Linked DNA regions of Homo sapiens: regions 1, 2, 4, 5 and 6 are each linked to region 3. The links are contacts of gene promoters, found by promoter capture Hi-C in human tissues and cell types (Jung and others, 2019). All regions are on one chromosome and are shown on one strand. The core of a region is centred on a gene start or on the middle of the fragment in contact, and the rest is flanking DNA. Distances in the headings are between cores, read along the strand shown. Region 1 overlaps SLC37A1 (solute carrier family 37 member 1). Region 2 overlaps LOC105372814 (a long non-coding RNA gene). Region 3 holds the start of TFF2 (trefoil factor 2). Region 4 has its middle 4.2 kb from the start of SLC37A1. Region 5 overlaps SLC37A1 (solute carrier family 37 member 1). Region 6 has its middle 52 kb from the start of UMODL1-AS1.

Region 1 (4,278 bases), core at 194-2,693, 220 kb after region 3:
AGTGCGAGGCTTGCCATTCTGTGGGTTTCACTGTGAGCTGGAAGTGTGCAAGCCTGGTCTGGGGCAGTGGCCCTGGGCACTCAGTGGAGAAGCCAGATGTGACCTTGAGGGCAGCCCCTCCTGGGGCCTTGGTGGGGCTGGCGGGGCTGCAGCAGCCTGCGACCTGCCACCTGCACCCTGCACCCCTGGTGGTGAGAGCAGCTCAGGCTGGCTCTTGGGCCACGTCAGGTAGCCAGGAACCTGGCGGTGTGACCTGAACAGGGTCCGGCCAGGAGCCAGGGCAGGTGGCCCCCCAGCCACCTCCTCCCAGCTTTGTCAGCTGCCCCTCCAGGAGCGGTTGCGTAACCTTGGAGGACTATTTTGAACACCCTGCAGGCAGCGCTATCAAACTATGCCTCCAGCACTTAGAAGTATGCTTTCTGTCCTAATGAGCCAGCAGTGGGGATGTGTGGTCCCCTTAAATGTTATCCAGAAGGCAGCTTGCCCACAGGAGAGGAAGCGGAATTTCCTGTGACCCCCCCTCAGGCCAGAAGCTTCCTCACCTGAGTGTGAGCCTAGAGGAGAGTTTAGGAAATGACCTGGTCCGGAGAGAGGGTGGGGGTCTGCCCTCAGCGAGCACCACAGCAGCTGTGGGTGAGGAGAGGAAGGCCTTTCTGCTGCAGATGAAGCAGGGGTCAGCCCAGGCCCAGGGTCCGGCCTGTGATCGCTCCCTCATGGTGGCAGCTGCTGCCCTTCGAGGGTGGATGAGCCTGAGTCTTAGGGAGGGTATGATTTGCTTTAGCTCCTCACTAGACAAGTTTAGAGGAAGCTGTTTCTGCTGCATCCCCTCCCTGTGCTCCCCAGGCGCCCACCTCAGGCTGCTCCTATGCATGCGGGGCTCTCTGGAGGGCACATTTCCATTCTTTGCCCCTCTGCCTCCCACAGCCATGCTGCTGCTCAGCGGAGCCCTGGTCAGTGGGCCCTACACACTCATCACCACCGCCGTCTCCGCCGACCTGGTGAGTAGAACCGGGAGAGACACCAGCCCTGTGGGCACCCTGCCATGTGCCATTCATGACAAAAGTGGCCTCCATTACTGTTAGTAAAACTGCATTTGCAGAAGCACGTTTTTGGCAGCTCACCTACACCTGTGGTCTCCAGCCTTCCCGCACCTGCCCCGCTGCTCACCCTTCTCCTAAAATCATGGGCAGGTTGGTGCAAAACTCACCGTTCAGCACAACAAAAGGCTCTTGGGCGCCATCCTCATGACTCAGGCGCCTTTTCAATCCAAGGGGGCAGGGGAGAGGTCCTGTCCTGGACGCCTCTGCAGAGAGAGAGGGGCCACGAAGAGGCGCTGGGGGATTCGGCCCTTCTCATCCAGGTACCATGCCCTGCCTTGGTCACCTTTGTATTGGACGTGTCCTGAAACTGCCTGAGTGTGCGTGAGCATGCAGACTTGTGTCTACATGGGCATGGAAAATTCTGGAAGGATCCACATCAGACCATTAGCAATGGTCAGCCTTCACGGGGTAGAGGCAGAGGAGAGACTTTCACTTATTTTTTAGACTTCAAAATACGTAGGTTCTGGATGATTTTCATATTGTGTGTTCTTTATTTTATATACATATTACGTGCATATACAAGCATTTATTTTTTTGAACGCTGGTTCATTTTTATAGTTTTAGGCTTCTAGGCACTGTTTCCCCTGATCTTTTTCCCCTCCTATTGTCCTCATTTTGGCTTTTTTCCCATTGTCTATGCAACATTTTCAAAACCAGAGCTCCTGGCGGCTGCTCACCGAGGACCTGCGCCAGCCTTGGTTTCTCAGCTCTCCCCTCCTCCCTTCTTCCCCTGGCGTTTGCTATTGATCAGGTTGAATTTTAGGTCCTGCAGAGACATCTGACAGGGGTCCCAGGAAGGCCCTGGCTGTCGAGGAATCCAGCAGACACGTGGATGTGTCTGGGAAGGAAGGCCGGCGCAGCTCAGGGCAGGGGCGCGCGTTGCGCACCTTCACGCCTCTCACGCTGGCTGCTCTGGGGCCTCAGGGAGGAGCAGGACTGTGCGGAACAAACGTTTTTTATTTGAAGAGAATCCTAAGAGTTCTTGTAACTAGAACCAAGCATTTCTGATGACTTTTGACTCTTAAAAACCCTTGAAGTTTTAACTCTCCAAGGCAAGCTTGGGGTGGAGTTTAAATAATGGGAAACACCCTCACGATGAGTTGTTTTGCAGAGCAGTTTGAGTAAATGGTCATACAGAGGCTTAGGTTTACTTCTCATGCTGTGGCGATAACTGCACGTCTGTTTTTCCTCTCTTCTAGGGGACTCATAAAAGTCTGAAAGGCAACGCGCACGCCCTCTCCACCGTGACGGCCATCATTGACGGGACGGGCTCTGTAGGTGCGCAGAGAGTTTTAGCTCTGGGAGGTTTGGTGTCTTAGGGGAAATCACATTGTCACATGCTCGTGAACAGGTACCCAGGGTTCCAACTGCATCTATAACATTGGGTGGGCCGGCTTCTTACTATACGAGCAGATGAGCAGGGGACATCGGCACACAGAGATGGTCACGCATGCCTGGGTGGCTTCAGAGAGACGGGCGTGTGACTAGCTGTGCGTGTCCAGGTTTTCACCCGAGGCAGTGGTTGGCAAACTACAGCCCGTGGGCTAACTCAGGTCCACTCATTATTTATCGCCTTCATCTCAAGAAAGGCAGAATCTTATTTAAATTACAGAAAAACCAATTGGTCCAAAATCATACAGGGTTCTGAGTGTTACCAGCATCGTCGAAGCTCTTGAAGAGAATTCAGTGGCATATTCTGGAATTTAAAAAGGTGGCAGAATAAGCAAGCCATCCCCTTAGGGAGCAGGCAGGTGGAGCTGGCAGAGTGCCAGTCTCCTCGCCCATGTGCAGCCTGACGGCACGGCTGTGGCCTTCCCTGAGCCCTTGTATGGGGAGCACGCACAGTGGCTGCACCTGCCAGGCGAAAATCAGGAGTTGCCACACCTGCCAGGTGAAGATCAGGAGGGTCCTTCCTACATGGGGGACGTTATGGGGGGCTGCCTGGTGTGGCTGTCACAGCTAATAAGGAGGACCTGGGGTGCCAACCTGTGTGTCACTTGCTGCGTGGGGGTCTCCAGTAAAGCCGAGTGTTTGGTAGATGAAGGTGGCTCGGTAGACCCAGGTCAGCCAGAACCTGGTGCTGGAGCCTTCCCACTGGCTCGTGCAGGGAGCTGATGTTGTTCTTGGCTGCCCCTGGCCTTGGTGCCAGCAGGCTGGAAACATCACAGCACGTTTCTGGGTGCCCACTGCTGTCTCAGTGATGCAGAATGCAAAGCCCTCCCGCCACATGGCCTCCCTGCTGCTCCTCCGAAGGCCAGGCTGGCCCCCGTGCGGGCTCTTTGCTCTGGTCACACCCCGTGCCTGGGAAGGTCCCCACAGGTGACCTCGTGCCGCACTCCCTCGTGCCGCACTCCCTCGTGCCGCACTCCCTCGTGCCGCACTCCCTCGTGCCGCACTCCCTCGTGCCTTGAGTCTTTGCCCAGATATCATCCTCTCAGCAAGACTTCCTGGGACCACCCTGCTGAGAACGCGTGAACCCTTCCGACTCGGCCTCCAGGCCCCTCTCCCGGGTCTGTTCTCTGGAGCGCTCTCCCCATCCGCAGTGGGATTCGGTGCACTCCTCTGTTTTGTCTCCTCTGTCTCCTGCCACTGGAACGGAAGCTCCAGGAGGACGGGATTTGCCTGATTCTTTGCTGTATCCCAGTGAACTGAATGAGCTGCTCCCAGACAGTTAGAATCGCAGCCGGGGCCCAGGCGGCTGACTGCACAGTGAGGAGCCAGGCCGGACAGGCCCCAGGCGCCCCCGCCCAGCCCTGGGTGGCGGGAACCCCAGCTCCACGCTGCTGCTGCTGCGTTTCCTTGTTCTGCGTTTCCTTGTTCTGGCCTTGTTCTGAGAAGCGGCGGGCAGGGTGGCCGTTGCCATGTGACACACGGCCTGATTCTGAGAAGCGGCGGGCAGGGTGGCCGTTGCCATGTCATGCGACACACGGCCTGGTTCTGAGAAGTGGTGGGCAGGGTGGCTGTTGCCATGTGACACACGGCCTGGTTCTGAGAAGCGGCGGGCAGGGTGGCCATTGCCATGTGACACATGGCCTGGTTCTGAGAAGCGGCAGGCAGGGTGGCCGTTGCCATGTCATGTGACACACGGCCTGGTTCTGAGAAGCGGCAGGCAGGGTGGCCGTTGTCATGCGACACACGGCCTGGTTCTGAGAAGTGGTGGGCAGGGTGGCTGTTGCTC
Region 2 (3,943 bases), core at 228-2,727, 140 kb before region 3:
GTGGGGTACACAGTGGTTCCAGTTACTTCCTAGCAGGTATTTGTTATGGGTGTGATGGGAAGCTTTTAATTATTTGTGGGAAGGAGGCCTCCAGTAATTTTCCGGTATCTGTCTCTGAGACTTCTGTCTTAATCTTCAACTTTGAAGGTCATCTTGGGGCCAGATGTTATTTACTCTTTCTTCATTTGAAGAAATGGTTTCCTAGATCTTTCCCAGCCACTCTTGATTCCATGCTAATGGAAGAAAACAAAAGGAATTTGTCTGTAATACTTAACTTGTCTTGTCTTAACTTAATCTATGAAATATCTACTTGCAGTTTTTCCCCTGAAACCATCTCTCATCATCTGTCTTGCCACCATAGCTTCCAGGCATCTGCCGCCCCCCTCCCTCCACCCTGCACCTCCCTGCCTCCTTGATTTCCCTCATCTCATGGCCCCTCCTTTGCACTGACCTCCCACAGGCTGTGTGTGCTTGGTGAAGAAGGGGTCCTCTCTATAGCTGGGCTGGCTCACCAGAGGAAGCGAAGGAGCGTATCTGGATGCTGGAGACAGAATACCATTGAAGTCAAGAGTGCCAGCAAAATAGGAAACAAACAGTGGAGATTAAGCATTCTCATTTCTTTCTTCTTTTTTTTTTTTTTTTTTGAGACCAAGTCTCCCTCTGTTGCCCAGGCTGGAGTGCAGTGGCGTGATCTCAGCTCACTGCAACCTCCTCCTCCCAGGTTCATGCCATTCTCCTGCCTCAGCCTCTGGAGTAGCTGGGACTACAGGCATGTGCTACCACATCTAGCTAATTTTTGTATTTTTAGTAGAGACAGGGTTTCACCGCGTTGGCCAGGATGGTCTCAATCTCTTGACCTCCTGATCCGCCCGCCTCGGGCTCCCAAAGTGCTGGCATTACAGGTGTGAGCCACTGCACCTGGCCTCAGCATTCCCATTTCTTTCAAATGAACCAACACACAGAGTTGCTATTTGGTGTATCCAACCAGCCTTATGCTGCTGCCCTCCCTGATGACATGGTCTCTGTGTCTGACCCACTTTCCCAGGCTTCTGCTTGAAGGGCTAAGGCATGGTTTTCCTCTGCTCCTGTTCTTCTTCCTTTCTCCACTCACCTTTCCCTTCCTCCTTCCTTCCTCTCTCTGTCTCTACCTCTCTTCTTTCCTTCCTTACTTTCTCCCTGCTATGATCCAAATGTTGGTATCCTCCCCAAATTCATATGTTAGAACCTAATACCCATAGTGACAGCATTAAGAGATGCGATCCTGGGCCTGGCCTGGTGGCTCATGCCTGTAATCCCAGCACTTTGGGAGGCCGAGGCAGGTGGATCACCTGAGGTCAGGAATTCAAGACCAGCCTGGCCAACATGGCGAAATCCTGTCTCTACTAAAAATACAAAAAAAAAAAAAATTAGCTGGGCACGGTGGCATGCGCTGGTAATTCCAGCTACCTAGGAGGCTGAGGCAGGAGAATCGCTGGAATCTGGGGGGCAGAGGCTGCAGTGGGCCGAGATTGTGCCACTGCACTCCAGCCTGGGTGACAGAGCAAGACTCTGTCTTAAAAACAAAAATCAAAAAACAAAACAAAACAAAACAATAACAAAAAAAGAGATGCGGTCCTTGGGAAGTGATTAGGCCATGAGGAATGGGATTGACGAACTTATTAAATGGTTTGAAACAGGTTGAAAGGAGCCCCTTTCCTTTCTACCACGGGAGGGCACAGAAGGCACACCTATGAGGAACAGGCCTCCAGACACTGCATTTTCTGGCGTCTTGAATTTGGACTTCCCAGCCTCTAGAAGTGTGAACAATACATTTCTGTTGTTTTTAAGTTACGCAGTCTAAGGTATTTTGTTATAGGAGTCCAAATGGACTGAGACAGAAATTGGTACCAAGAAGCAGAGTGTTGCAGAGACAAAGACCTGCAGATGTGGAAGAGGCTCTGGAACTGGATAATGGGCAGAGGCTGGAAGAGTTTAGAGGAACAGGCTCAAAAGGCCTGGACTGCCAAGAGTGGACATAAAGGGTGATCCTAGTGAGGGCTGAGAAGAAGACACAGAGCCTCCGAGATTATGTAAGTGGCTGTGATCAGAATGCTGATAGAAGTATGGATGGTAAAGGCCACTCTGTTGAGGTGTCAGACAGAAATGAGGAACGTGTTACTGGAAACGGGAGGAAAGGCCATTCTTGTGACAGAGGGCAGAGGACTTGGCTGAACTGTTTGTGTCCTCATGTTCTGTGAAAGTCAGAGTGGCAAGGGATGAACTTGAATATTTGGTGGAAGAAACACTCTAAACCATGTCTTGAGGACACTGCTTACCTTCTCTCCACTGCTTATGGTAAAATGTGAGAAGGGAAGAAATCAATTAAAAACAGATTTTTTTTTTTTTTTTTTTGAGACGGACTCTTGCTGTGTTGCCAGTGGCACAATCTCGGCTCACTGCAAGCTCCGCTTCCCGGGTTCACACCATTCTCCTGCCTCAGCCTCCCGAGTAGCTGGGGCTACAGGTGCCCGCTACCATGCCCGGCTAATTTTTTGTATTTTTAGTAGAGATGGGGTTTCACCATGTTAGCCAGGATGGTCTCGATCTCCTGACCTCGTGATCCGCCCGCCTTGGCCTCCCAAAGTGCTGGGATTACAGGCATGAGCCACCGCACCTGGCCTAAAGACAGAATTTATAGTCAAAAAGGAGGCAGAACTTGCAGAATATTCTCAGCCTGACCATACTGTAAAGAATAAAAAAGCATGTTTAGAAGATCAAGGGTGTAGCCAAACTAGCGTTTCAGGCAGAGATTAGCATGGACAGGCAGAAGCCAGGTGCTGTGCATGAAGACAGTGACGGCATAACCCTGAAGGTGTTTCAGAGGTTATTATTGCTGCCCTCCCATCACAGGCCCAGGGTGCCGAGGTCTGGGGGACAGAACTATGCCCACAGAGGTGCCTGGAGTGCCTGCAGGACCTCGGCACCTGCTGCAGTGTGTCTCCCTCAGAGGGCACAATCAATAAACCTTGGGCTTCTGTGCAGGGCCATCTCCATGGGTGTGTAGAGGGTAGGAGCTATGGAGGCATGGCTAACTCCATCTGGATTTCAGAGGATGCTTTGGAGAGCCTTGGGGTCCAGGCAGAGAACTGCCACAGGGGCAGAGCCACTGCAGAGAGCCCCCACCAGGACAATGCCCAGTGGAGGTGTGGGGGCAGGGCCACCTGAAGACCTCAGACTAGCAGAGCCACTGACGTGCACCTCCAGCCTGAGAGAGCCACAGGCAGGAGACTCCAGCCCATGAGAGCTGCAGTATGGGCTGTGCCCAGCAAACCCATGTAGGAGGTGCCACCCAGAGCCCTGGGGGCCTAAGTCCCTCCTTAGAGTGTTCAGAAGGTGGGACCATGGAGTCAAAGAAGATATAATGCTTTTTGCCCTGTTGGGTTTTGGACTTACTTGAGACCTGTTATCGCTTTCTTCTTTTCTGTTTTTCTCTTTTTGGATGGAAGTGTCTGCCCTGTGCCTGCCCCATCCTTGCATTTTGGAAGCACATAACTTGTGTGACTTCACAAGTTCACCGCTGAAGGAATTTGCCCCAAGAGGACATTTACCTTGAGTCCCACTCACATCTGATTTAAATTATGTGTAGCTGGGACTCTGGGCTTTAGACTTTTTATTTGGTGCCGGGAACAATTTAAGACTTTGGGCCCTATTGAGATGGAATGAACATATTTGGCATGTGAGAAGACTGAATTCTGGAGGGCCAGGGGTGGAATGCTATGGTCTGAATGTTGGGGTTCCCCCTAAATTTATTTGTTGGGACTTAATGCTCAGTGTGATTAATACTCTGATAGTACTAAGAGGTGTGGCCTCTGGAAGGTGATTAGTTCATGAAGACTTTGCCTCATGAATAGGGTGGAGCTCTCATAAGACAGGTTGAAGGGCCCATCTCTTCCTCTTCCATCAT
Region 3 (3,947 bases), core at 1,209-3,708:
ATTTTCATCTCACTGTTGGCTGACCTGGGTTACCTCTAGACTAACAGTCCAGGCTGGCCCCAGGCTAACCAACCTGGGCTACCTCTAGACTAGCAGTCCAGACTAGTCCCAGACTAACCAATCTGGGCTACCTCTAGACTAACAGTCCAGGCTAGTCCCAGACTAACCAACCTGGGCTACCTCTAGACTAACAGTCCAGACTAGTCCCAGACTAACCAACCTAACCAACCTGGGCTACCTCTAGACTAACAGTCCAGGCTAGTACCAGACTAAACAACCTGGGCTACCTCTAGACTAGCAGTCCAGGCTAGTCTAAGACTAACCAACATGGGCTAGCCCCAGACTAACCAACCTGGGCTAGCCCTAGACTACCTCTAGACTAGCAGTCCTCTAGGCTACCTCTAGACTAGCAGTCCAGGCTAGTCCCAGACTAACCAACCTGGGCTAGCTCCAGACTAAACAACCTGGGCTAGCTCCAGACTAACAAACCTGGGCTAGCCCCAGACTAACCAACCTGGGCTACTAGCCTCAGACTAACCAACCTGGGCTAGCTCCAGACTAACCAACCTGGGCTAGCTCCGATTAACCAACCTGGGCTAGCCCTAGACTAACCAGCCTACGCTAGCCCTAGACTAACCAACCTGGGCTAGCTCCAGACTAACAAACCTAGGCTACTAGCCCCAGACTAACCAGCCTATGCTAGCCCTAGACTAACCAACTTGGGCTAGCTCCAGACTAACCAACCTAGGCTACTAGCCCCAGACTAATCAACCTGTGCTAGCTCCAAACTAACTAACCTGGGCTAGCCCTAGACTAACTAGCCTACACTAGCCCTAGACTAACCAACCTGGGCTAGCCCCAGACTAACCAACCTGGGCTACTAGCCCCAGACTAACCAACCTGGGCTAGCTCCAGACTAACCAACCTGGGCTAGCCCCAGACTAACCAGCCTACGCTAGCCCTAGACTAACCAACCTGGGCTAGCTCCAGGCTAACCAACCTGGGCTACTAGCCCCAGACTAACCAACCTGCGCTAGCTCCAAACTAACCAACCTGGGCTAGCCTTAGACTAACTAGCCTACACTAGCCCTAGACTAACCAACCTGGGCTAGCCCCAGACTAACCAACCTGGGCTAGCCCCAGACTAACCAACCTGGGCTAGCTCTAGACTAACCAACCTGGGCTAGCCCCAGACTAACCAACCGGGGCTAGCTCGAGACTAACCCACCCAGGCTAACCCTAGACTAGCAACTGGGCCTCCTCCGGCCCCTGCTCTGGGCTCCGCCTGTGAAGCTGGGTCCTGGGTTGCCAGCTGCTGGCCCAGGAAGATTCCCTGGAAGATTACCTTGCTTTGGGAGGGGGTGGAAACACCAGGGGACCCCAGTGACACTGGAGTCGAAACAGCATCCATTGTCAAAACACTGGTCACTGGTGATTCCAGGGAAGCCGCAGTTCGTCCTGTTATGGGGGCTCAGCCTGGAGCACTGGCAGGGGGCTGTGGAAAGACCCTCAGTCGGCCCCACCCTGGTACCCCAGACCACACTGCTCCTTCTCTCAGAGGTTCTAGGGGATGCCTCTACTGTCTTGTTGCCACATAGAGAAACACAAAGTCTTATCTTGCCCATATTTAAGCAATGCGGTTTCCTCCTGAGAAGCCGATAGGGCTTTGCTGAAATTGTTATATTAGTTTAAAAGGAAAAAAAAAAAAAAGCCAGGCATGGTGGCTCATACCTATAATCCCAGCACTTTAGGAAGCCGAGGCGGGCAGATTGCTTGAGCTCAGGAGTTCAAGACCATCCTGGGCAACATGTCGAAACCCCATCTCTACAAACAATACAAAAAAAAAAATTGGCCGGGCATGATGGTCCACAACTGTGGTTTCAGCTACTCAGGCGGCTGAGGTGGGAGGATCACTTGAGCCTGGGAGGCAGAGGTTGCAGTGAGCCAAGATCACACCACTGCACTCCTGCCTGGGCGGCAAAGCCAGATCCTGTCTCGGAAAAAAACAAAAACAAAACCCTCCTAGAGGAGGGTGAACAGATGGACCCAAGGCCAAGATCCAGGCGAGAGGTGAGTGCTCTGGGACTCCAAGGACCCTTGGTGGGAATGCCCTCCTGGCCCGACACGGGGCCCGCTGACACCTGCCGTCACTCAGCCTTTCCCTAGGAGGGAGGCCCTTCTTGGAGCCACCCTCCTGAGCAGTGGCAAATCCCATGTGAACAACACACATTGCCAGATGCCTTTATAGCCATTCCCCCTCTCAAGTTAATTTATGGTTGTGCTTTTTTTTTTTCTTTAAGAGAAATAAAGAAAGCACATAAAAAGACCCTCTCCTTCACTTACAGGGTTTCTCACTCCCCGCCAGGGCACATAGCCCCAGGACGAGGAGCGCTGCCAGGAGCTGGGCGTCTCGCCGTCCCATGTCTAGCTCAGCTGCACCCCAGGGTGGCTTGCAGAATGCATGGTGTCCACTGCCGGGTATGTTTTATAATCTCCCCTCTGTTTGTCCAACAAGCAGAGATAACCTTTCTTCTCTGCCCCGTGGCCCCAGCCCTTCCACCGTGGAGGCGAAGAGGAGGCAAGAGGCAGCTGTGCCCTGTGCAGGCGAGGCTTCCGGGCCAGGGTGACTCTCTCCCTGCTCGGTGATACCTCTTCCTGCCCTGGACAGAGAGTTGGGTCATGCCAGGCTGCCAGCGTGGAAAACCGGCCACGTGCAGGTCTGGGGCTGGGCACACACAGGGTCACACCCAGGAAGGGATAAGCTATGCATTTCTATTGATAGAGTGGGCAGGGACCACAGGAATTTAGAAAATATTAGGGCCAAGTTTACTGGGGAAAATGTACAGGCCAGCAGATAGCATGGAAAAGTCCCCTCCCTGAGGAAGGGAAGCATCTCAGAGGAGGTAAGAGACTGCTCCCAGGGCTGTGGTTAGAGCCTCCCCAACCGCAGCACGATGCCCTTTGTCCCATCTTCAGCAGGAGGGGCTGCTCTCCATGGAGATGAGGCTGACAGGGTCAGCGGAGTAGCCTGTGACAGGCAGGTTTTAATAAGTTCATTTTCAGCCAACCCCTGAAATGGGTTATTTTTGTTCCATGGGAATGCTCTACATCTTCTGAAAGATGGCACCTGGGACCCAGCCCATGGCCTTCCTGGGGTAGGATGTGCTGGAGAAGGATTCTGTGGACCTGACAGAGAAGACAGAAGCCAGAGAGTAGACACCCGGAAAGAAAGAGGGAAAAGTGTGGTGGGAAGGACAGAGGGGACCCGAAGTTCCCCACGCCAGGGAAATGACAGGGGGTTGCCAGTCTGTTTCTGATGGTTGAGCAGTCAGGGGCCCAGAGACGCAGGAAACCCAAAATCCTTGGTCCACCACGGGGCTGTCCTCAGGGTCTGGAGAGCAGGCCCCATACTCCAGGCCCCCATCCTCCAGGCCCTCGTCCCCCAGGCTCCATCCTCCAGGCCCCCATTCTCCAGGGCTCCATCCTCTAGGCCCCTGTCCTCCAGGCCCCCATCCTCTAGGCCCTCATCCTCCAGGCTCCATCCTCCAGGCTCCATCCTCCAGGTTTCATCCTTCAGGCCATCATCCTCCAGGCCCCCGTCCTCCAGGCCCCCATCCTCCAGGCCCCATCCTCCAGGCCCCCATCTTTCAGGCCCCTGTCCTCCAGGCTCTTGTCCTCCAGGCCCTCATCCTCCAGGCCCCTGCTCCTCCAGACCCTCATCCTCCAGACCCTCATCCTCCAGGCCCCCATCTTTCAGGCCCCTGTCCTCCAGGCCCTCTTCCTCCAGACCCTCGTCCTCCAGGCCCCTGTTCCTCCAGACCCTCGTCCTCCAGACCCTCATTCTCCAGGCCCCCGTCCTCCAGGCTCCATCCTCCAGGGCTCCTCTGGGTCCGGGTCAAGTACCTCCAGGCTCTCTGCTGACTGTTCACCACTGGGCAACCACAGGG
Region 4 (4,039 bases), core at 670-3,169, 160 kb after region 3:
AAGAAGCATGGCACCAGCACGTACTTCTTACGAAGGCCTCAGGAAGCTTCCATTCCTGATGAAAGGTGAAGTGGAGCAGGCCTCACATAGTGAGAGGGGAAGGAAGAGAGAGAGCATGGAGGGAGGTGCCAGGCTCCTTCTAATCAGTGCTCACAGGGACTGATACAGTGAGAACTCACTTACTACTGAGAGGATAGCACCAAACCATTCCTGAGAGATCTCCCCCGATGACCCAGACACCTCCCACTAGGTCCCACCTCCAACAGTGGGGGTCAAGTTTCAACATGAGATTTGGAGGGGACAAATACCCAAACAATATCAGTTTGATAAAGAGGATATGAGTAATTTCATTCTCCCATCAGACAGTGTTTGTTTAGAAGAAAAGTACCATGTCCATAAATCATCAAATGCTGGCCCAGAGGGAACTTTAAAGAACAGCCCCTTGATTTAAGCCACACAGTTTACCAAACTATAACTGGACTGAAGAGTACGCTCTTTTTTTTTTTTTTTTTTTTTTTTGAGGCGGAGTCTCGCTCTGTTGCCCAGGCTGGAGTGCAATGGCGCAATCTCAGCTCACTGCAAACTCTGCCTCCCGGGTTCAAGCAATTCTTCTGCCGCAGCCTCCCCCGTAGCTATGATTACAGGTGCCCGCCACCATGCCTGGCTAATTTTTGTATTTTTAGTAGAGACAGGGTTTCACCATGTTGGCCAAGCTGGTCTCGAATTCCTGACCTCAGGTGATCCACCTGCCTCAGCCTCCCAGAGTGCTGGGATTACAGGCATGAGCCACCGTGCCTGGCCTAAGAGTATGTCTTTTTGCAGACCCCATAAAAATTTTCCAACTTGCTTATCTCATGTATTTGCACTAGCTCAACTGCAAGAATGACTCCTTAGTTGATGGGTCAGTTTCCTATTTCCACATACCTGACCTCATTCTACCTATAGGCATAAACTCAAGAGGAATTTACAACAGATGGGCTCAGGCAACAAGTTAGCCCCAGAGTGGAGCTCAGCTACAGAGGAATGCTTCACTGAAAGAAATGTGAGTCCCTGAATCTGATTCAAGCCTTTATCAAGTCCTACTTCAGTTAGAATCCAGTTTACTCCCCAAATACCCGTGAGCACTCTCTCAGTTACTATTTCCCTTGCTACACATATAGAAGAAAAGCAAGAAAGTTACTCTGCTGGGAAACACTGCCAAGGGGTCTTAGAAGCAAGAAAATTTGCCTATTTTATACAGGTAGTTTAAAGAGAACCACCCTTATAAATGGGTGTTTGTCCCCTTATTATTTCAGGACACTTGAAAGCTCCTCTCCTCCAATATGTCTCTAATTCAAGTATCACAGTGTCTAAAATTCTACCACTAAAATGCCATTACCTAAATTAAGCACAGCCTTCTGTCTTTATGTTGATATTTCTTTAAATATCATGCCAATAGTTTTAAAATCAAATGATACTAAAGGTATATAACAACAAACAGTCGGGCCTGGCTTTATCCCTTCAACTCCTCTGTCTCATTCCCCTACCATTTTCTACTCTTTTACCCATTTCTTCTGGTAGTTCCCTATATTTCTAAATAATATGAGTAAACTATGATTTTTATGTCCAATTTTAAAGCTTTTCTATGGACCTCTGGTTTTAGAGACAACATCTAGTTCTCTTACATCCCTTGCCACTTCCCCTGATGCTGTAGGACAGACAGGTCTGTCCCACCCACGGTGACTCAGTCATTGTTGTTCATGGCCGCTGCCCGTTCTTCACGATCAAGGAGGAGAATTCTTTGGAGGAAACAGAGCTTTCATACGTGAATCGACTGGGAAGCGAGTCAAAAGTACTGCAACTGGAAGTGTGGCATGGGGAGGGGGCCGTGGCCAGTCTCCTCACTGGGCTCCTGTAGGACTGGGAACGCCTACTCCTTCACACCTAATTATGTTTGCTGGATTGGGTTATAGTTCTTCAGTGTGTGGACTCTTGTCAGTTTTATATCCGTAGGCCGAGCACAATGCCTGGAATACAGAGCATGCTTAATAATCAGAGGCTTTTCATTGTATTTCTTATCAACAACACTAGTAACTGAATATAAATCACCCTTCCTCGCCAGTCAGTGCACCATACCATTAGAATTCTTGCTTTTTGATCAGTGGAGATAAAATGAGTTTCTTTTCTCCATGTTAAGTAATCAGGTTCTGATTTTCCCTTTTCTTTCTCTCTAATAGTGTTTAATGCTCTAATGCTTTCTAAGCATGAGGTATTTTCTTGAGCTCTGAAGCCCAGTATCTTCAAAGCCCCCTTCAGGGAAACCTCAGTTCCCTGTCAGTCAAGGCCTGTCACTGGCTTTGCCTTGGCCTTCTCTGGGAGAATGTCTGCTCCTTAAGTTGATGGCATACAAGTTGAGGTGGGGAAAAATTAAAGTGTAGGATTTCTGTAGGCAGCTAATGTTTTATTACTGGAGTGCAGTGATGCGATCTCAGCTCACTGCAACCTCTGCCTCCTGGGTTCAAGCAATTCCCCTGCCTCAGCCTCCTGAGTAGCTGGGACTACAGGCACACACTACCACGCCCAGCTAATTTTTTGTATTTTAGTAGAGATGGGGTTTCACCATGTTGGCCAGGATAGTCTCGATCTCCTGACTGCATGATCTGCCCGTCTCAGCCTCCCAAAGTGCTGGGATTACAGGCGAGAGCCATAGCGCCTGGCCTAAAATGTATTATATAAGCATCATAGTGACCACAAAACAAAAACCTGCAGCAGATATACAAAATGTAAAGAGAAAGGAATCAAAGCATACCATTACAAAAATCATCACATTAGAAAGGAAGATAGTAAGGGAGTAACAAAGCAACAAAGGAACTACAAACCGCCAGAAAGCAATTTTTTAAATGGCAGTAGTAAGTCCTTATCAATAATTAATGTAAATGGATTAAATTCTGCAATCAAAAGATAGAAGTGGCTGAATGGATATTAAAAAAAAAAAATCTAGGTGCTGCCTGCAGGAGACTCAGCTTTAAGGATACACATAGGCTGAAAGTAAAGGCATGGGAAAAGATATTCCATGCAAATGGTTACCAAATAGAGAGCAAAAAAGATACTTATATCAGACAAAACAGACTTTAAGTCAAAAACTTCATAAGAGACAAAGTCACTATATCATGATAAAGAGATAAATTCATCAAGAGGATATAACAATTATAAATGTATATGCACCCAACATCAGAGTACCTAAATATATATTAACGGAACTCAAGAGAGAAATAGCAATACAGTAATAGCAGGGTACTTCAGTACCCCATTTTCAACAATGAATAGATGATCCAGACAGAAGATGAATAAGGAAACAGTGAACCTGAATAACATTCTAGAGCAAATGGACCTAACAGACATACAGAACACTCCTTCCCCCAGCAGCTGAATGCACATTTAAATGTACACAGAACATTCTCTAGGATAGATCATATGTTAGGCCACAAAACAAGTTTTAACAAATTTAAGAAGATTAAAATCATATCAAGTATCTTTTCTGACCACAATAACATGAACTAGAAATCAGTAACAGGAGGAAAATTGGAAAATTCACAAATATGCAGAAATTAAATACACACCTGAACAACCAGTGGGGTCAAAGAAGATATCAAAAGGGAAATCAGAAAATTCCTTAAGACAAATTAAAATGGAAACAACATACCAAAACGTATGGGATGCAGCAAAAGCAGTACTAGAGGGAAGTTTATAAAGAAAATGTGGTGTATAGCTGTATCTACACAATGGAATACTATTTAGCCTTAAAAAAGAAGGATTTCCTGTCATTTGCAACAACATGGATGAACCCGGAGTACATTACACTAGGTGAAATAAGCCAGGTACAGAAAAACAAATATAGGCCAGGCATGGTAGCTCACTTCTCTAATCCCAGCACTTTGGGAGGCTAAGGCAGGAAGACTGCTTGAACCTGGGAGTTCAAGACCAGCTTTGGCAACATATCAAGACCCTGTGTCTACAAAATTTAAAAAATTAGCTGGGCATGGTGGCATGGGCCTGTATT
Region 5 (3,905 bases), core at 74-2,573, 180 kb after region 3:
CTCCATGAAGGCACCACCTGTTGGGCTGGGGGGCTGTTGGGGCAGATGTAGCGTGTAAGGTGGGCTGGCCTTTGGGGGAATCTTTGTCAGGCCACAGCTGTTGGGGTCCACCTGATGACTATGAGGGCCCCTGTGAGCCAGGAGCAAGTGGGAGCCCTGTCCCGGTCCCTCTCCCGGCTTTCCTGGTGGTCCATCTCAAAGCCCCCGCCCCTGACTCTCGTGTGTAGTGGTGTCCAGGCCACTCAAGACTTAGGGCTTCTGAGGAGGCGGCGTCAGGGTCAGCTCTTAGTTCAGTGTCATAAGTAACAATATAAATAACTGCCGCTTACAGAGCCCTGGGGTATGACAAACTGCCACATACATTACCCCTGTGATCCTCACAGCAACCCTGCGAGTGCCCCTGTGAGGAAATTGAGGCTCGGGTCTTCGTTCCCCAGGCAGGGCTGCCACACACTCGAGAATTCCCTGTGGGTCAGGCTGCCTCCAGGGCCCCTACTCATCCTCTCTGTGCCTCAGGGTTTGTCCGGGTTTAATTACCTGAGTACAGTCCCAGCATCACCCTCAGAGCCTCCTAAACGCACAGATTTCCTGACCTAGCAGCTGCGATGTGCCTGGGCATGGATTGGCTTGACGCTGAATCCTGTGGGTTTCTTTACCTTTCAAGATAGATCAGAACATCACACCACATCAAAACTAAACTTTATAGTGCCTTCTGAAGCGCCCGTGTGCTTGAGCTCATGATATAAATGGCATCAACGAAACTGAAAGTAGTAGTGATTCTGTTGACCCACAAAACAGTTGAGTGATTATTTATAGCCTGCATTTCCCAGAATATTGTAAGCAAAACCAAAGCAAAATGTATTTGCTTACTTGAAATTGAACCAGAGGCTGTGAATTAGAAAGTGAGTCTTATTCTGTTATGTCATTTATAGAATGACACGGCACACCAGGTCACATTTAAGTTAGTTAAATGGAATGTTTAGACTTACCTTTGATCACTGCTGATTAATTGTATTTTTCTCGATGATGATGATAAAACCAGGGCTGGGAGGATAGTGGTGTTATAAGTGCAACCCTGTCCCTTCTATCTGCTGCTCCAGCTGTGGCCTAGCCTCAGGACTCAAGGCAAGCGTCTGCCCAAGCTGGTAGACAGGTGAGTCTGACTCCCAGCAGAGATCTTAGTGCGAGCTCTTTTCACCTGGACTGGGCCAGAAAAGAAACCTGAAAGCAGAGGCTTCCCGGAGAAGCTTAAACTGCAGGGGTCCCTGGAGCCAGGGGGATGGCAGCATTGATTTGAATGTGAGTGTGCCCACCCCTCTCTGGACACACAGGACTTAAAAGGAGAAAACTGGCTAGGCGCAGTGGCTCACGCCTGTAATCCCAGCACTTTGGGAGGCCGAGGTGGGCGGATCACCTGAGGTCAGGAGTTCAAGACCAAACTGGCCAACATAGTGAAACCCTATCTATACTAAAAATACAAAAAAAATTAACCAGGCATGGTGACAGGCGCCTGTAATCCCAGCTACTGGGGAGGCTGAGGCAGGAGAATAGCTTGAATCCGGGAGGCGAAGTTTGCAGTGAGCCGAGAGCGCACCATTGCCCTCCAGCCTGGGCGACAAAGTGAAACTCCATCTAAAAAAAAATGAAATAAAATAATCCTCAGTGGCAGACAGAAAACAAAGTCTGAAAAGCTGGAAGTATGTACTATGGGTGGGAAACTTGTTATTTGGAAAGTTCCAATTCTCCCAGTGTTAATATTTAAATAAAATGCAACTCCAGTGAAAATCTTAGCAGGGTTTTTTTTAATTGAATAAAATAATCTTAAAGTTTGTATGAAAGAATGTCCAGGAATTATCAAGAAAAGTGTAAAGATAACATTTTATGATATGAAAATATGCAAAAGATTAACATATTTTAATACCATAATCAAATTATGATATTACATGAGAATAGACAAAAAAGTCAGTAGAATAGATTAGAAAATATGGAATATTTGACAGAGCTTATTTAATAAATTTAATAAATGGTGTCGGCACAACTGGTTATTCGTCAGGAAGAAATAAATGTTGAATCCCTATTTTATAAAAACAAATGGCCCGGGCACTGTGGCTCACACCTGTAATCCCAGCACTTTGGGAGGCCGAGGCAGGTGGATTACCTGAGGTCAGCAGTTCGAGACCAGCCTGACCATCTCTACTAAATGTACAAAAGTGAGCTGGGCATGGTGGCGGGCACCTGTAATCCCAGCTACTTGGGAGACTGACGCATGAGAATCGCTTGAACCTGGGAGGCGAATGTTGCAGTGAGCCGAGACCACACCACCGCACTCCAGCCTGGGTGACATGAGTGAGACTCCATCTCAAAAAAGTAAAATAAAATAAATGGATTAAAGACATGAATGTAAAATACAAAAAGTACAAATCCAAGAAGAAAATTATGTTTATCGTAGGAGTGAGTGTGAAGTTAGGAAACCCAAAGAAACAACGGGCAAGGGGGATGAACAAGCAGTTTACAGACACGGAATTCAGATCGCCAGGAAATATGTGAATGGTGTTCGAGTCTGCCGGTATTCCATATGCAAATTAAGGCAACACTGTGCTCAGTGGCTGGCACAGCATTGCCCAGGGCAGTAAGCGCTATTCACTGGTCGTGAGGGGAGAGGAGTTTTCATGCGTTCTTGATGGGATGTCAAGCGTTAGCGCCTTTTGGTGACACCCAGTGAAATAAAAAACACTACAGCCTTCAGACATACTTCTGGGAATTTCACCCTAAAAATAAAAGCACCTTACTTAGGAATATCTTCATAAGCATCTTTATGGCAGCTTTGTAGTGACCAAAAAAAGCAAAAAGGAAAAAAAAACAATGCTGGATATCAAGGGAACCTAATAAGTAGGTAAAAGTTTGAATAAATTATCACAAGTCCGTATTATGAAATGTGCAGGTCCCTAAAAGAATTCATCACAGGCAAACCAGTTGACTCAGAAACATTTCCAGGAGGTACTTTGAGTAAGAAGTTAACATGTGCATAAGGATGTATAGAATGATTCCATTTTTGAGAAGTAAACAATGACCAAGAAGCTCCTCCATCTATTTCTGTATCCTTCATGAGTGGAGCATTTGCGTGTCTGTCCCTGAGTGTGTATAATGCATTTCACGTGGCACCTGTGACTCATCGCAGGAGGCTGGCCGTGGGCAGGTGCTGTTGTCTGTGGGGGAGAGCCTGGCTGGTCGCTCCTACTTTTGGTACCAAAACTGTAATTGCTCTTCCAGGACTTAGATAATGCTTTGGAGAATTCTTGTAGCCTTATAAAAGGAATGTGAAGGACTGGTTAGAATCAGTGCACCCACACAGCCTAATGAGCCACGTAAAGTTGACTAGACAGATCGTCAAATGCAGATGATACACACACACACACACACACACACACACACACACACACACACACACACACACACACACACCCCCTCTGTGTTGGCTGAAGGTGGAGTGAAACTGGCCTAACCCCACTGTCCTCCAGGGGGATTCAGTGAGGCCTGAATCCCCTGCTCCTGTCCTGTCCTCTCACTGTTGCCTTTCAGTGGCTCCTGCACCCTCCAGACTGCCTGATAATCTCCTCTATTGGAGGCCACGTACCTGCTGCAGAGAATGTGTCGCGTGGCTGTAGTCTTAGGCAACTTAGGTGGGGCTGAGAACCCAGGGCCACTTCTGTCTGCGAAGTGGCTCAAATTCAGCATGGAAAGAACGGAGCCTTCATGGAATGCAGGCGAATACAGTGAATGTTTGTGCCTAAATGACTGCGTGGGGCTCTGCAGGTGTAGGATGAGGGAGGAGTCCAGTCTTTTCTAGTGTCATGAAATTCCCACCGCAGCTGCCTGCTGCTCCCCGGACGGGATTTCCTCTCGCT
Region 6 (4,336 bases), core at 329-2,828, 190 kb before region 3:
TGCGTGCTTCCTTTGCATGAATAAAACTTAGAGTGGACTGACGTACAGATGTTTACACACACGTCTTTTCTGCAGAGAGCCTGTTGTTAAACATTTGCCAGCACACCACTGCCTACCCCCTGCAACCCCCACCCCGCCAGCCTCACCTTCCCGGCCCCACACTTTGTGCTCTCGTCCTCTGAGCCACGAGCACTTTCCAGAGCTCTCCTGCTGCACCGATGCCCTCTGCCCAGCATGGGATGACCCATCCCAACCATCCTCTCCCCTTGCCTGGCCCATCCTACTGGTCCCCCAGGCACGGCCCAGCAGTTATTCTCTCCAGGAAGCTGTTCTCTCCAGGAGGCTGTCCTGGCTTCTGGGTTGGGTCAGTGCCCTTCTGTGTTCTGGGGGTCCTGGGTTTTCCCCCATTGCACCCTGTGGGAATCGTGCTTGCTTCTCTGTGTTTAGGACTGGCCCCTGGCTGCCTCGTTGGTGGGGCCATAAAACTCTCCGTTTGTGCCCCAGAATCTAGCACATTTCCTACGTAGTAGATGCTCAATAAACATTCACTCAATAGAACAAACAGAATATTCACTTAAGGAGCTGGGATTGTTCTTGACTGAATACAGAGCTAGGTCTCTTCCCAGACACAGAAGGAAACAGACAAAGGAAGGGAAAGCTCTGATGGATACATGGTTCTGAAGGGGCCCTGGGTCCTGGCACATGAAGACGCTTGGGCACATGGGTGGGGAACATTGGGGAATGCCACGTCTCAGCTCCTATGACTGGAGGGCCCTTTGGACCGTTTTGGCTTCAATACAGCAGGCACCTGACATCCTTGACAGAGGAGTTTCTTTCTGCAGATGCACGAGGGATGTGGAACCCAGGACTCAGAGGGGGCAGATTAGTGTTCCCCCCAGGGGGCCCTGGGAGCCACGATCCTGCAGCCGGGGGTGCTCAGAGGATAAACAGGTGAGGCAGTTAATCGGGAGGCAGTCCTCTGGGAGCCCCAGTGCAGTCAGCAAGGCATGGAAGCCGTCTGTGTGGGCTTCCATCATGGTGGGGCACTGGGGGCCATGTGGGGTTCCTTCACTTCACGTAGGTGCAGCTCATCATGGGATGACAGTGGGGGGTTGGAGGGGACACCCTACGGGTCCCAGAGATGCCAAGTGAGGTCATCGTGATGATGGAGGTGCTGGCTGGTGGCCTCCAAAGGCAGGCAGGGGCAGGCCCTTTCCCTGTGTCCAAGTCCACATGGGCACTCTCAGGGCTATGCCCATTTGACACGAGTCTCCACGCCTGGTGAATGTTGGCACCAGCACAGCCATTCCATCGTGGCCCTGAAACCACCACAGAATACTCCATATCATGATCGTAAAACACTCAGTGCCAGCCGCAAGCTCCTCTGACGGAGGCTGTGGTTCCCACGGAGCCCGGGCGCCTGTGGCACCCTCTGCCCTCCTGCTCCATCCGGAGCCCTGGTGGCTGTGAGGCGGGGGCTCCTCTCCTGTCCCTGCCACCCCCACCAGGTGGTGGCACCCCATCCTGGGAGGCCCCCGCCTCCTCTGCCTCTTCTTCTACTTGGAGTGTGAAATCAGTGGACACGCGCTGGGGCAGAGTGCAGCACTGACCCCCGTGCTTGCTCACTCTGCAGGCGCCGTGGCAGGGGCTGGGTAGGGGGCTGCTGAGCCAGCGTGAGGGCCCTCCCCACATCCTCACCTCGGAAGGAAATGCCCTCCCTGGAGCCGCGGGGCAGTAACTGAGGTAGCACAGCTGTTGAGTGCGTGTCCGGTGCCAGGCCAGGGGGGCAACCCGTGTTGGGGACATGTTGGATGCCTCTCTGAGTCCTGGAGCCTGAGTGGCTCTAGCCCCCAGACGTTCTCCAGGAAGCTTTACTGGCCTGAGGGTCGCTCGGGAGCAGAGATGGAGGGGAGAGATGGGCCCTTCCCACTCGGCCTCCAGCAGCTCAGCCCGGCCTCTGCCCCCTGCCAACCCCCCTCCTGCCAACCCCCCTCCTGCCAACCCCCGTTTTCAGGTCTCCTTTTGGAGACAACAAGGTCACTGTGGCACAAGGACCCACAGTTCCTTATAGTCCAGAGAAATTTAGGGCGGTGGGCGGTAAGCTGGGGCAAGAACTGTTCTCAGGCAGCCCCGGCTGGAAACATCACAGATTTGTCAATGAGTTTGCAAACATGATTGAGACATCTCCGCTCAGGAGCCTTGGGCTTCAGGTGACAATGACTCACTGGCATGGGCTACCAAGTGTGTGTGTATTTGACCTCAGCGGGTTACACATGCACAACACACAGACACACAAAGACACGGACAGACACAGATACACACACAGACACACACACACACACACACACACACAGAAATATACACAGGCCGGGCACGGTGGTTCAGGCCTGTAATCTCAGCACTTTGGGAGGCTGAGGCAGGCAGATCACTTGAGGTCAGGAGTTCGAGACTAGCCTGGCCAACATGGTAAAACCCCATCTCCACTAAAAATACAAAATTAGCTGAGTGTGGTGGTGCATGCCTGTAATCCCAGCTACTCAGGAGGCTGAGGCAGGAGAGTTGCTTGAACCTGGGAGAAAGAGGTTGCAGTGAGCCAAGATCATACCACTGCACTCCAGCCCAGGCAACAGAGCAAGACTCCATCTCAAAAAAAAAAAAAAACAAACGAAACACAGAGAGAGACATACCCAAACATATACACAGACACACACACACGAATACACACAGACACACACAGAGAGACACAGAGAGACACACGCAAACACATACACACACTGACACACAGACACACATATACAGAGACACACATATACAGAGACACACATAGGTACACACAGACACAGAGAAACACACACACACACAAACACACACATACAGACATATGCACAGAGAAACACACACACAGAAGACATACAGACACACACACAGAGACACACACAGCCACATACAGACACACAGAGCCTCACACACAGGCACACATGCCGCCCTGAGGCCACACAGGCCACACTTTGTACGCAGCCCCCACCTTCCACAGGCCTCTCTGTTTGTACAAACACCGCCAAACACATCCCCCTCATCAGCCCCTTTGAGTTTTCAAAATAGTTACGATATCCTCACTCCAACAATATCTGGAGGAAGGCTGCCTTTCCCCAATTTTATTTTTCTTAGACAAAGAAACAAAGAGTCCAGGAGACGCCTGAGAGAAGACAGAGGAAGTGGCAGAGCGGGGGAGGGGAGCAGAGCATCCAGCAGCCCAGAGAAGGGGAGCAGGGAGGGGGGGACCCAGTGGAAGGCTCAGAGCCACCGGTGAGGTGGAGGACCATCACAGCCACGGATTCTGTAGGCGGACTTGTCAGGACAGAGTGGAGTGAGGGTGAGTGAGGGGCAGATTCAGATGGCTGTTCAGGGGCGAGTGTGGGGAGACTCGTGGCTGTGCGGGGGTGAGTCGGGGGAGACTTGTGTGGCTGTGCAGGGGTGAATGGGGGGAGACACATGGCTGGGCAGCAGTGAGTGGGGGGAGGCTTGCATGGCTGTGCAGGGGTAAGTTGGGGAAGACTCCCATGGCTGTGCAGGGGTGAGTTGGGGGAGACTTGCACGGCTGGGCAGTGGTGAGTAGGGGGAGACTCGCATGGCTGTGCAGGGGTGAGCTGGGGAGAGACTCACTTTGCTGTGCAGGGATAAGTGAGGAGGAGACTCAAATGTCTGGGCAGGAGTGAGTGAGCGGTGACTCACATGGCTGGGCAGGGGTGTGTGAGAGAGGGAGACTCACGTGGCTGGGCAGGGGTGAGTGAGGAGGAGACTCACAAGGCTGGGCAGGGGTTAGTAGGGGGTGACTCCTATGGCTGGGCAGAGGTGAGTGGGGAGAGGCTCCCATCGCCGGGCAGGGATGAGTGAGGGGAGACTCATGGCTGTGCAGGGGTGAGTGAGAAAGGGAGACTCCCATGGCTGGGCAGGGGTGAGTTGGGGGAGACTCATGTGGCTGGGTAGGGGTGAGTGGGGGGAGACTCCTATGGCTGGGCAAGGGTGAGTGAGAGGAGACTCATAGGGCTGTGCAGGGATAAGTTGGGGGGAGACTTACGTGGCTGTGCAGGGGTGAGTCGGGGAGACTCGCATAGCTGTGCAGGGGTGAGTGGGAGGAGACTCACGTGGCTGTGCAGGGGTGAGTGGGGGAAGACTCGCATGGCTGTGCAGGGATAAGTGAGCAGGAGACTCACATGTCTGGGCAGGAGTAAGTGGGGTGACTCACATGGCTGGGCAGGGGTGTGTGAGAGAGGGAGACTCACATGGCTGGGTAGGGGTGAGTGAGGAGGAGACTCACATGTCTGTGCAGGGGTTA

The links. The method cuts DNA at HindIII sites, captures the fragments that hold promoters and counts their contacts. A contact is called where the count stands out against the background at its distance.
Region 1: a contact is called between a fragment that was not itself captured here and the fragment with the promoter of TFF2 in region 3, in 2 of the 25 tissues and cell types used here (H1 embryonic stem cells and lymphoblastoid cells).
Region 2: a fragment that was not itself captured here is called in contact with the fragment with the promoter of TFF2 in region 3 in 1 of the 25 tissues and cell types used here (lymphoblastoid cells).
Region 4: a fragment that was not itself captured here is called in contact with the fragment with the promoter of TFF2 in region 3 in 4 of the 25 tissues and cell types used here (IMR-90 fibroblasts, lymphoblastoid cells, mesenchymal stem cells and 1 more).
Region 5: a fragment that was not itself captured here is called in contact with the fragment with the promoter of TFF2 in region 3 in 5 of the 25 tissues and cell types used here (IMR-90 fibroblasts, adrenal gland, hippocampus and 2 more).
Region 6: a fragment that was not itself captured here is called in contact with the fragment with the promoter of TFF2 in region 3 in 1 of the 25 tissues and cell types used here (lymphoblastoid cells).

The regions. Positions count from the first base shown.
Region 1 is chr21:42,566,061-42,570,338 of GRCh38, forward strand. SLC37A1 (solute carrier family 37 member 1) reads left to right here. Exons shown (of 20, transcript NM_001320537.2): 16 at 925-998; 17 at 2,300-2,378. Among named protein-coding and RNA genes, the nearest start is that of LINC01671, 47 kb to the right of the region's middle. RefSeq lists an enhancer at 1-552. The HindIII fragment of the contact is 4,706 bases long and covers 1-3,796 here.
Region 2 is chr21:42,210,334-42,214,276 of GRCh38, forward strand. It overlaps LOC105372814 (a long non-coding RNA gene), which reads right to left. Exons shown (of 3, transcript XR_937748.4): 2 at 452-541; 3 at 1-233. It also overlaps a transcript of ABCG1 not described here. Among named protein-coding and RNA genes, the nearest start is that of ABCG1, 6.8 kb to the right of the region's middle. The HindIII fragment of the contact is 4,311 bases long and covers 1-3,633 here.
Region 3 is chr21:42,348,536-42,352,482 of GRCh38, forward strand. It overlaps TFF2 (trefoil factor 2), which reads right to left and starts at 2,459. Exons shown (of 4, transcript NM_005423.5): 1 at 2,344-2,459; 2 at 1,346-1,495. The coding sequence starts at 2,422. It overlaps LOC105372815 (a long non-coding RNA gene), which reads left to right and starts at 3,758. Exons shown (of 3, transcript XR_937755.3): 1 at 3,758-3,947. The HindIII fragment of the contact is 10,226 bases long and covers 1-3,947 here.
Region 4 is chr21:42,507,628-42,511,666 of GRCh38, forward strand. It overlaps a transcript of SLC37A1 not described here. Among named protein-coding and RNA genes, the nearest start is that of SLC37A1, 4.2 kb to the right of the region's middle. The HindIII fragment of the contact is 5,149 bases long and covers 1-4,039 here.
Region 5 is chr21:42,527,194-42,531,098 of GRCh38, forward strand. The region is part of intron 3 of SLC37A1 (solute carrier family 37 member 1); the gene reads left to right. It overlaps LOC107987299 (a long non-coding RNA gene), which reads right to left. Exons shown (of 2, transcript XR_007067878.1): 2 at 1-1,632. Among named protein-coding and RNA genes, the nearest start is that of SLC37A1, 15 kb to the left of the region's middle. The HindIII fragment of the contact is 7,112 bases long and covers 1-3,905 here.
Region 6 is chr21:42,158,776-42,163,111 of GRCh38, forward strand. No RefSeq gene overlaps it. Among named protein-coding and RNA genes, the nearest start is that of UMODL1-AS1, 52 kb to the left of the region's middle. The HindIII fragment of the contact is 8,913 bases long and covers 1-4,336 here.